Regions from separate parts of the Homo sapiens genome. Here region 1 is linked to region 2. Evidence: promoter capture Hi-C in human tissues and cell types (Jung and others, 2019). All regions are on one chromosome and are shown on one strand. Each heading gives the region's core, a stretch centred on a gene start or on the middle of the fragment in contact. The rest is flanking DNA. Distances are from core to core; before and after follow the strand shown.

The links. The method cuts DNA at HindIII sites, captures the fragments that hold promoters and counts their contacts. A contact is called where the count stands out against the background at its distance.
Region 1: a contact is called between a fragment that was not itself captured here and the fragment with the promoter of GAB4 in region 2, in 2 of the 25 tissues and cell types used here (mesendoderm cells and stomach).

Annotation. Positions count from the first base shown.
Region 1 is chr22:17,046,873-17,052,837 of GRCh38, reverse strand. CECR7 (cat eye syndrome chromosome region, candidate 7) reads right to left here. Exons shown (of 4, transcript NR_152826.1): 3 at 5,412-5,514. Among named protein-coding and RNA genes, the nearest start is that of CECR7, 13 kb to the right of the region's middle. The HindIII fragment of the contact is 5,281 bases long and covers 267-5,547 here.
Region 2 is chr22:17,005,211-17,011,117 of GRCh38, reverse strand. GAB4 (GRB2 associated binding protein family member 4) reads left to right here and starts at 2,896. Exons shown (of 10, transcript NM_001037814.1): 1 at 2,896-3,177. The coding sequence starts at 3,004. The HindIII fragment of the contact is 10,541 bases long and covers 1-5,907 here.

The sequences.
Region 1 (5,965 bases), core at 1,658-4,157, 42 kb before region 2:
AGACCAGCCTGGCTAACATGGTGAAACCCTGTCTGTACTAAAAATACAAAAAATTAGCTGGGCTTCATGGCAGGAGCCTGTAATCCCAGCTACTTGGGAGTCTGAGGCAGGAGAATCGCTTGAACCTGGGAGGCGAAGGTTTCAGTGAGCTGAGATCGTGCCATTGCACTCCAGCCTGGGAAATAAGAGCAAAACTCTGTCTCAAAAAAAAAAAAAAGAAAAAAGAAAAAAAAAAAACCTTAAGAAAATTAACAGCTTTATAGAGGTCTAATTTACATACTAAAATTCACCTATTTTAAGTGTACAATTCAATGATTTTTGTGTGTGTGTGTGAGAGACAAGATCTCACTCTGATACCAAGGCTGGAGCATAATGGTGCTATCATGGCTCACTGCACCCTCAACCTCCTGGGATCAGGTGATCCTCCTGCCTCAGCTTCTTGAGTAGTTGAGACTACAGGCTTGTGCCACCACACCTGTTTAATTTTAAAAAAACTATTTGTAGAGATGGAGTCTCTATGTTTCCCAGACAGGTCTTGAACTCCTGGGCTCAAGTGATCCTCTTGCCTTGGCCTCCCAAAGTGCTGGGATTACAGGTGTGAGCCACTGTGCCTGGTCCAATTCAACGATTTTTAGTATATTTAGTATATTTATGGAATTATGTAACCATCACCGAAATCTAGTTTTAGAACATTTTGTCATCCCAAGAAAGAAACTTGTGCCTATCAGAGTCACTTTTCAGTCTTATTCCCAGCCCTCGACAACCAGTAATCTGCTTTCTGTCCCTATACGAGGCTGTCCTGGACATTTCATATAAACTGAATCATGCAATGTGTGTTGTTTTGCATCTGGCTTCTTTCATGAAGCATTGTGTTGTTGAGGGTGACCACTGTGGTAGTGTGCCTCAGAACTTCCTTTTGATTGTTGAGTAGTATTCCTTTGTATATCCCACATTTTAATCCCTTTGTCAGTAGATGGGCATTTGAGTTGTCTCCACCTTTCGATTCTTGTGAATGGTGTTGTGAATATTCACATACAAGTCTTTGTGTCGACATACATTTTTATTTTCCCTGGGTAGATACCTAGAAGTAAAGTTGCTGGGTTTAAAGCAGTTTTATTTTTAACATTTTAAGAAACTGACATACTATCTTCCAAAAAAGTGGCTGCACCATTTTATATTCCCACTGGCAGTGTATGAGGGTTTCGATTTCTCCACCTCCTCTCCAGCACTTGGCGTTATCTGTCTTGATTGGTTGTATTCATTCTAGTGGGTGTAAAGCGACATCCCATTGTGGATTGATTTGCATTTTCCTAGTGACTGATGTTAAACACTTTTTAATGTGCTTATTGGACATTAATATATCATCTTTGGAGAAATGTCTATTCATGTTCTTTTCCCATTTTTAAGCTGGATTGTCTTTTAATATTGAGTTGTAAGAGTTCTTCTGGATATATCACTTATTAGACATATGATTTATAAATATTTTCTCTCATTCTGTGGGCTGTCTTTCCCTTTTTTGATTGTATCTTTTGATGTGCCAAAGTTTTAAATTTGGCTGATGTTCAATTTGCCATTTTTCATTTTCTCACTTTTTCCCTTTCCTCCTTTTCCAGGTCTCATTATTTAGCCCCAGCTGGTCTTGAACTGTGCTTTTGACATTGCATCTAAGACATCAGTGCCTTACACAAGATCACAAGGATTTACTCCTGTGTTTTTTTCTAAGAGTTTTATAGTTTTAGTTTTTACATTTAGGTCTGTGATCCATTTTCAGTTAATTTTTGTGTATGGTGTTAGGCAGAGACCCAAATTAATTTATTTGCACATGAATATCCAATTGCCCCACCACCATTTGTTGAAAAGACTATTCATGGTTGGACATAGTGGATCATACCTGTAATCCCAGCACTTTGGGAGACCAAGGCAGGAGTATTGCTTGACTCCAGGAGTTTAAGATAAGCTTGGGCAACATGGTGAGACATGTGTCTCTACAAAATGAAAAACAACAAAAAAAGAAAAGACTATTCCTTTCCAAATGAAGTTTCTTGACCCCTTTGTCAAATCAATTGACTTTAAATGTAATGGTTTCTTTCCGGGATTTCAATTATTTTTCAGTTAATCAATTCATTTTTTTTCGAGACAGGGTCTTATTGTGTTGCCCAGTCTGGAGTGCAGTGGTGTGATCATAGCTCACTGCAGCCTCAAACTCCTGAGCTCAATTCATCCTCCTGCCTCAGTCTCTTAAGTAGCTGGGACGACAAGTGTGTGCCACCATACCTGGCTAATTTTTTTTTTTTCTTTTTGAGACAGAGTCTCCCTCCATCACCCAGGCTGGAGTGCAGTGGTGTGATCTCAGCTCACTGCAACCTCTGCCTCCCAGGTTCTAAGTGATTCTCCTGCCTCAGCCTCTGGAGTAGCTGGTGTTACAGGCACACACCACCACGCCTGGCTAATTTTGTATTTTTAGTAGAGACAGGGTTTTGCCATGTTGGCCAGGCTGGTCTCGAACTCCTGACCTCAGGTGATCCACCCACTTCAGCCTCCCAAAGTACTGGGATTACACCACACCCAGCCATAGTTTTAAATTTAATTTAATTTAATTTTCATAGTTACAGAGTCTTGTTATGTTGCCCAGGCTGGTGTCAAACTCCTGGTTTCAAGGGATCCTCTCTCCTTGGCCCTTTAAAGTTTTGGGATTACAGGCATAAGACACCACACTTGGCTTTATTTTCTTTTACAGATACGTTTTCTCTCTCTTCCCCAGGTTGGAGTGTAGTAGCCAATCATAGCTCACTGCATTCTCAGATTCCTAGGCTCAAGAGATCCTCCCACCTCAGCTTCCTGACTAGATGGGACAGCAGGCCTATACCACCATGCCTGGCTAATCAAATTTGTCTTTAATTTTTATTTTTTTAGACAGGTCTCACTGTCTATGTTGCCCAAGCTGGTCTTGAATTCCTGACCTCAAAGGATCCCCCAACCTCAGCCTCCCAAAGTGCTGCAATTACAGGCATGAGTGCCCAGCCTGAGCTTTCAACTATATTCCAGTGACCTATACATCTGTCCTTAAGACAGTACCATACCCTCTTGATTACTTTGTAGCAAGTTTTGAAATTAGGAAGATAAGTCCTCCAATCTTGTTCTTCTTTTTCAGGATTATTTTGCTTATTCTGTGTCCTTTGCATATCCATATGAATTTTAGGATCACCTTGTCAATTTCTGCAGAAAAGGTAGCTGGGATTTTGATAGGAATCAGGTTGATCCTGTAGACTAATTTGATGAGTACTGACAATAATATTTAGTCTTCTGATCCATGAACATGGAATATCTTTCATTTATTTAGTTCTTTTTTAGTTTCTTTCCACAGTGAGTACTTTATTCTTTGGGATGCTATTGTGAATGGAATAATTTTCTGAATTTCATTTTTGGATTTCTCATTGCTAGTGTACAGAAATACAATTGATTTTTGTATGCTGATTTTGTGAACTTGCTGAACTAGTTCTAGTTTTGTTTTTTTTTTAAACTGGATACCTTAGGATTTTCTGTATACAAGATCATGACATTTGGGAGTAAGACAGTTTTACTTTTTCCTTTCTAATCTGGATCCTTTTATATATCAATCGCCTAATCATCCTGGTCAGAACCAAGGCTGCATAGACCTGCTGAACATGGCCATCCTTGTCTTGTTCCCAATCTTAGGGGAAAGCATTCAGTCTTGCACCATTAAATCTGTTAACTGTTAGGTTTTCACAGATGCTTTTCATCATGCTGATGAAGTTCCCTCCTGTTTCTAGTTTGTTGAGGGTTTTTTTCCATGCATGGGTAGATAATTTCACTCTCATTTACAGAAAAGGAAACTGTCATTCAGGCAGTCTGCCTTCAAAGATCAAGCCCTGGATCACAGTGCTATCTCTACAGCACACTCTTCCATTTAATTTTCCCTCTGGCCCTCCTCCGAATTCTCTCTTTCAGCTCACTTGGGAATGTTGGTGTTCTCCAGGAATCTCAGCTCTTTGCTCATGTGCTTCTCTCCTGAAGTGGGAGAATGGCTTCAGCTGTCACCTGCAAGCTGATGACTCCACACTCCCTATCTTCTTGCCCTCACTGAGCTCTGGTGTGGCCTCATGCTTCCAAGACTTTTCCACTCAGATATGTCAAGAAATCTCAAACCCATCCTGTCCTAGAATGCCCTGTTATCCCTCTCCACTCAAGAAGGCTCCTCTGACTCTATTTTCAATATTGGATGCTTCTGCCATTTGTCCTGTTCCAGCCTGAAACCTGGCCGTGATCCCACATGTTTCCCTCTCCTTGGCTCCTCCTCTCACCTTTTCTAATTGGTGGCCAAGTTCTACCTATGTTCTTTCTTCACCTGCACTGGTACTGCCTTGCTCCTGCCTCCAGTCTCATTCTCCTCAAATTCACCCTCCAGGTAACCAACGGAGTGATTTATCTGAATTACACGTCCTCTGATACTTAGCCCTTCACCAGTTCCCTATTCCCACAGCATGGGAACCAAGGCCTTTTCTCATCTGTTCCATTTCATACACTAGGAACTTCCACCAAAGACTGAAGTCACTAAATGCACTTTCTCATGTCAGTTTTAAGAGCTGTATGCTACTTTCGTCATTTGGAGACATTAGAAATTATGTTACTAGTTCAACTTTACTGTCTTTTGCATGTCATGTTGTCTCATGCCTCAGTGCTTCTTGTTTACTCTGTTGTCTTTTTTTAATATATTAAACTTATTTAAATAGAAACAGGGTTCTTGCTGTGTTGCTCAGGCTGGTCTCAAATTCCTGGGCTCAACTGATCATCCTGCCTCAGCCTCTCAAAGTGCTGGGATTACAGGTGTGAGGCACCAAGCCCAGCCCTGTCTTGTTTTGAGAGGTTCTTCCTCTTTCCACATCATCCCCTCTATTCCTTTACATCTTGAAAATGCCTACTCACTAGGCCCTCCTCTTTGAACCTCCTCCTAACTCTTGCAGAGTTAATTATGCCCTCCTCTGTGTTATTTCACAACATTGCATGTGCTTGTAATATCGCATGGGCTGTCCTATAAGTATTTGTCATTTTCTTACTCTCCTGAGTTCAGCATTTATACTAGATTTATCTTAAACACTCTTATAAATTGCCAGCATATAGAAAGTGCTTAAGAAATATTTGTTGTAATCACCTGAATTAGGATTTATCTATGTCTCCTTGCTTTTAATAGATCATTTTCTAATTTGTCAGTTTAAATACATTTTTAAGAGAACACCCCATCCCTAAGCCAAATTGCTTCTTATGCAGAAAAAAAAGCCACTACTGTGAGTCTCCAAGCTTCCCCCTGCACAGCCACCCTAGGAGACATGGGGCAGGAGTACTGGGAACTGACCCCTTCCATCTGCCCTCACTTAGCTTCCTCGGGTACTTACATGGGGCTGTCACTGACTTTACATGCTGCTGCAGCTCCTTAGTCAGCTGGTCCTTGTCATGGGACAGAAACTGTGGGGTCAGGACAATCAATGCCTTCACCACCTGCAGAACGAGGGCAGAGGCTCATGATGAGTGTCAACCTATTACATAGCATAAAAAGTCAGTATTTATTGAATGAGTGGAAAAACAAGGTGACGTTGGACCCTACAGTAGTTTTGGAAAATAAGAGGACCAGGTGCAAATGCCTGTACTTCCAATGTCCACTCCATGCCTTGAAAAGTTACTTGACCTCTCCTTAACCTCAGTTTCCTTCTCTGTGAAATGGGAATAATAAAGATTCCATTCCTCATTTGGTTTCTTTAAAGCTTCCATGAGATAATACATATAAAACATCCAGGTAGTTTACATTATTATCCCTGTCATCAGTACTTTCATCATTATTTTTACTATTATTATATATACCACCCTGTGCCTGTAACCCAATGGGTATTTGATAATTATTGACAATTTATTATTCATATATTAGTAGTGTTATCCCCATTTTATTGTACAA
Region 2 (5,907 bases), core at 1,647-4,146:
CTGGCAACAGCAGTATCAAGAAATGAATACACAGCTCAATGTGAGGGAGTAGGACATGACTGTGGTCTCATTTTAATGCCTCTTTCTGGGCCTGATAATTAAAGCACTTGCATTTCTCAGATAAAAGTTATTTTATTTTCCTGACTGGTAAAGACCCAGGTCAGCTTGGTCCAGACCGCAGGGAGAGGCCCTCATGCCCTGTGTCCTTTGCCCAAAGTGAGAAGCCTGAGGGAGCACACTGGAGCCCACCCCTGGAGCTCTCCCTCTGCCCTTCCTCCTACCCACGGGGCATGAACTGCCAGCTCAGCAGGGAGGGGAGGGTCCTATGTGACCCCCAAGTAGTTCGCTGATACATGGGCTGTGGGAGCCAGACGAGGCCCACAGAGGGGGAAATGCAGAGCCCATTCCTGACTCTGGTGCCAATGTGTGACTCCAGGGGAATCGAAGGGGTGGGCAGACCAGGAGCCCAGGGTCAGTGAGGGTCCCAGGGGCAGCACAAGTGCTGGAGACCCTCCCCGACAGCCACCGGACAGACACTCACAGAAGGAGGAGGTGAGACCCATGGTGGGCACGGATAGCTGCAAAGCAGAGGAAACAGAGATAAGTTATGAGAAACTTATATATATTTTCCATCAACCATGGAATGGAAGACACAAGAAAAATAAATCATCAATGGAAAATAAAGTGGTTTTTTTTTGTCCACTTGAGACACAGAGGATAAATTTAAATTCACTGTATACACACACAAAAAGGCTCAGAACACTCATAAGTCGCCCACAGTGGCCCCCAACCGTCATCAAAGCCAACATCCTGGGCAGGCTAGACCTTGGGGCAACACCTGCCTTCCATGCCCTGTGGCAGTCTCTGCACTCTCCTGAAGTTCCCATTGTGCGCACTGTAGGGGGCTGGAAGAATGTTGCTGGAGAGGACATATTCTGGAAGAGGGTTCTTTCCACCCTGAGGCCAGGAGAAGACAGTCAGAGGCCCACGGGGACCCAGGTCGGGGCTCCTGCTGAGGCCCCAGTCGGTACGAGGTCACTGCAGGGGCTGAGCTCCCTTCCATCCAGGAAGACCTTATCTGCCTCATTCCTGCCACTGCCTCTCTCCCGTCTCACCCCATCCAAACCTACTCTCATCTCAGGGCAGGATCCAACTGGGTACCCTGTGGCCTCGTTGGCTAACTGATTTATACTAAGGTATGTGTCCTTTACAGTGTGAGCTGTGATGGTGAGTTTAGAATTGACTCGCCATGACTGCAGCCTGCAGAGGGAGCCAGCACCTCCAGGAACCCCATTCTTGCCATCAGCAGAGGGTCTATGGCTCCCACCTCATCCAGTGTCTCCCTGAGCACCATGTCTGCCTGACCAGGACCCAGTGGTCCTCCCATGAGGATGCTGCCTAGGGCTCCAACCCAATAGGTCCAAATACACCTCACCAACCTCCCCTCGGGGCTGTCCCCCCATTCCCCACCTCAGGGTCGGGTCACTACTCATATCTCATCCACCCACATGTCTCCTCAGTCTCAAGACTCTGCAATTTCCTCCATGTGGCTCCATCTCCACTTTTCCCACCAGCTCAAGCCAAATCTTATCTCTATGGACATCCCATTGGCCCTCATCAGGTCCCCCATGTCTGCTTGTTCCTGCAATCCATTCTCAAAACATAAAGCATAACATGTCACACAGTTTCACACTCTTCAGCACTTTCCTTTGCTCTGAGGAGAAGCCAGGCACCCACTCACCTGGCCCCACCCAGCACCCCCATCCCCACACACTCTTCCTTGCATCCTCCCTGCTACCTGATGGGGCCCCTGTGCCCCTCTTGTAAGCTGACATGCAGTGCACATTGGGGATGGCTTACTGAAGAGGCCCCTTGTCTGTCCTGTTCTCTAAGACATCTGCAGAGGCAAGAACAGATCCTGTGCATATCAGATGCCCCCAACTGTGCTTTCACACAATGTGTGAACAAAGAAGCAAACCAAGCTCCTCCAGAGGCAGGAGACAAGGACCTCCGGCTTCTTGGTCCCCGTGACACCGGGTCTGGTTGAGGCCAAGCTGCCCTCATCTTTGACCTGTTCTCTCCTTCCCTTCTCTCCCCAGGCAACATGAGAACCTCCAACTGGCCCAGGGAAGGAACTTGTAAAGCCCACCCCAACCAGGATAAGACAGTGGGGCATAAATGGGAGGAGAGGGGTTGGCTGTCAGTGCCACACTCAATGAACACTCACACATGCACACACTGATGCGTGCACACACGTGACATAAGTACACACGGTGACATCCCAATACATTCACAAACATACACAACACAAACAGGCCCAAACCCTCACTCTGAAACCTAACCCCACCCCCAAACTGCAACCCGGAACTCAAGTCCTAGCCTGAACCTTGACCCCAAACCCCAACTCAAGTCAGAAGGTAAACCATGGGCCGAATCCCGAACTGGAACTCAAACCCCAGCAGGAACCTGAACTCTTCCATTGTCTTTCCTCATCTGGCGCATGGGACTCAGCACCTGAGACTCTGTTGTGGCCCTCTGAATGAGCTGCGCCCCTCGTTCTTGTCCTCTCCACCAGCTGCGCTCCCTGTCCCTCTTCTCCCAAGGAGCCACCCGGCCCATGTCCCCCGCCCCGGTGGTCCCGATGAGATGCACCCAGGCTGACCCAGGGTGCAAATCCCCACCCCAATCCCCAACGCAAACCCTGAACGAGAGGCCTCGTCTAAACTTTAATCCCAAACTCCACCTCAAATTGGAACCGGAACCACAGATGGAAGCCTGAACCGGAACTCAAAGCCCAGCTGGAACCTGAACCCCGCCCTCGCCTGTGAGCACCTGCGCCCGGGTCTCGCCCTCCCCACGAGCTTCACCTCTGACCCCGACCTCCCCTAGAACTGCGCTTTCTACCCCGCAGTCCCAGGGTATCGCAAGCCGTCCCTCACACCCCACCTCCAGCAACGCCCTCTCGCCCTGTCTCCCCCACCTTCACTGTGAGCTGCAGCCCCCATGTCCCTGCCGTCCCCCTCACCCTCCCGGGAGCTGTGCCCACCTGACCCGGCATTTGCGCCTTTGTCTTCGTGGCCCGGAAGTGGCCCCGCCGGCGGAAGCACGAGAAGTGGCCACGTGCTGTACAGCGGCTGGCTGAGGAAGTCGCCCCCCGAGAAGAAGCTGAGGCTCTTTGTGAGTGGGGCAGTGGGGGCGGTACCAGGAGCGCCACGGAGGGTCTGGGGACTCCGGGAGGGGCGTGGGGGAGGCGGCCTGGGTCCACGGGAGGAGCTGCGGGTGGAGGCGACTTCTCCACGTCTGCATGCGAAGGCGACTCCCCGCCAGTGAGAGACAGGGTCCAGGTTTGTGTGGGTTGCGTTCCGAGACCCAGGGAGTTGATTCCAGGGCTGGGGACCCTATTACCTTGAGCGCCGTGGGCCTGCAGGTCGGAGAGTGGGCGGGAAAGGGGACACAGCAGGCTCCGCAGCCTCGCAAAACGGCAGGAACCTCGCACCCGCTCCCCTTCCCTCCCAGGCCCTGAGAATGGCGGGCACCTCGCACCCTCTCTCCTTCCCTCCCAGGCCCCAAGGAAGGCAGGCGCCTTAAACCTGCTCACCTTCCCTCCCAAGCCCCGAGAAGGCAGGCACCTCACACCCTCTCCCTTTCCCTCCCGGGCCCCAGGAAAACGCGGGCACCTCGCACCCGCTCGCTCCCCTTCCCTCCTCACCCGCCACTCCCGGGGTCGTTCGCGTCCTTCCATGCCACCACGCCTGCTGAGGGACAGTGTGCACTGCAGTGTAGTTTTCTATATATTAATTCATGTGGTTAAACGATTTAGAAAAAAAGAAGATTGGTTGCCCTTTCCCCTAGTGGCTAATTTGAAGAGTGTTGTTCTAAATTTCAACAATTTTACTGAGGAAGCGGTAATTGTTAGGAGTCACTATGATTATACCAAGGTACATAGAAGAGGCTTTTCTCTCCTGTTCCTTAGCCCCAGGTCCAGCCCTTCAAGAATCTATTCCAGAATAAGCTGATCCTATAGTCATCTTCCCTTTCCTCTGCTTCCCTGAGGTATGGGGTATGATCAATTCTGCGTTCTTGTCTTTCTCCATTTCTTTTTTCAATTTTTTATTATACTTTAAGTTCTGGGATACATGTGCAGAACGTGGAGGTTTGTTACATACATATACACGTGTCATGGTGGTTTGCTGCACCCATCAACCCATCATCTACATTAGGTATTTCTCGTAATGCTATCCCTTCCCTTGCCCCCCAACCCCAATAGGCCACATTGTGTAATGCTCCCGTCCCTGTGCCCATATGTTCTCATTGTTCAGCTGCCACTTATGAGTGAGAACATGGCGGTGTTTGGTTTTCTGTTCCAGTGTAAGTTTGCTGAGAATGATGATTTCCAGCTTCATCCATGTCCCTGTAAAGAACATGAACTCATTCTTTTTTATGGCTGCATAATATTCCATAGTGTATATGTGCCATATTTTCTTTATCCAGTCTATTATTGATGGGCATTTGGGTTGGTTCCAAGTCTTTGCTGTCGTGAATAGTGCTGCAATAAACATACGGGTGCACTTGTCTTTATAGTAGAATGATTTGTAATCCTTTGGGTATATACCCAGTAATGGGATGGCTGGGTCAAATGGTATTTCTAGTTCTTGATCCTTGAGGAGTCGCCACACTGTCTTTGACAATAGTTGAACTAATTTACACTCCAACCAACAGTGTAAAAACATTCCTATTTCTCCACATCTTCTCCAGCATCTGTTGTTTCCTGACTTTTTAATGATGGCCATTCTAACTGGCGTGAGATGGTATCTCGTTGCATTTCTCTAATGACCAGTGATGATGAGCATTTTTTCATGTTTGTTGGCCACATAAATATCTTCTTCTGTTAAGTGTCTGTTCATATCCTTTGCCCACTTCTTGATAGTGTTGTTGTTTTTTTCTTGTAAATTTGTTTAAATTCCTTATACATTCTGGATATTAGCCCTTTGTCAGATGGATAGATTGGAAAAAATTTCTGCCATTCGGTAGGTTGCCTGTTCACGCTGATGATAGTTTCTTTTGCTATGCAGAAGCTCTTTAGTTTAAATAGATCCCATTTGTCAATTTTGGCTTTTGTTACCATTGCTTTTCATGTTTTAGTTATGAAGTCTTTGCCCATGCCTATGTCCTGGATGATATTGCCTAGGTTTTCTTCTAAGGTTTCTATGGTTTTAGGTCTTACGTTTAAGTCTTTAATCCATCTTGACCCCGACCTCCTTCAGAACTGAGTTAATTTTTGTATAAGATATAAGGAAGGGGTCCACTTTCAGTTTTCTGCCCATGGCTAGCCAGTTTTCCCAACACCATTTATTAAATAGGGAATCCTTTCCCCATTGCTAGTTTTTGTCAGGTTTGTCAAAGATCAGATGGTTGTAGATGTGTGGTGTTATTTCTGAGGCCTCTGTTCTGCTCCATTGGTCTATATATCTGTCTTGGTACCAGTAACATGTTTTGGTTACTGTAACCTTGTAGTACAGTTTGAAGTCAGGTAGTGTGATGCTTCCAGCTTTGTTATTTTTGCTTAGGATTGTCTTGGCTATACGGGCTCTTTTTTGGTTACATGTGAAATTTAAAGTGGATTTTTCTAATTCTGTGAAGAAAGTCAATGGTAGCTTGATTGGAATAGCAATGAATCTGTAAATTACTTTGGGCAGTATGGCCGTTTTCACAATATTGATTCTTCCTATCCATGAGCATGGAATGTTCTTCCATTTGTTTGTGTCCTCTCTTATTTCCTTGAGCAGTGGTTTGTAGTTCTTCTTGAAGAAGTCCTTCACATCTCTTGTAGGTTGTATTCCTAGGTATTTTATTCTTTTGGTAGCAATTGTGAATGGGAGTTCACTCATGATTTGGCTCTCTATTTGT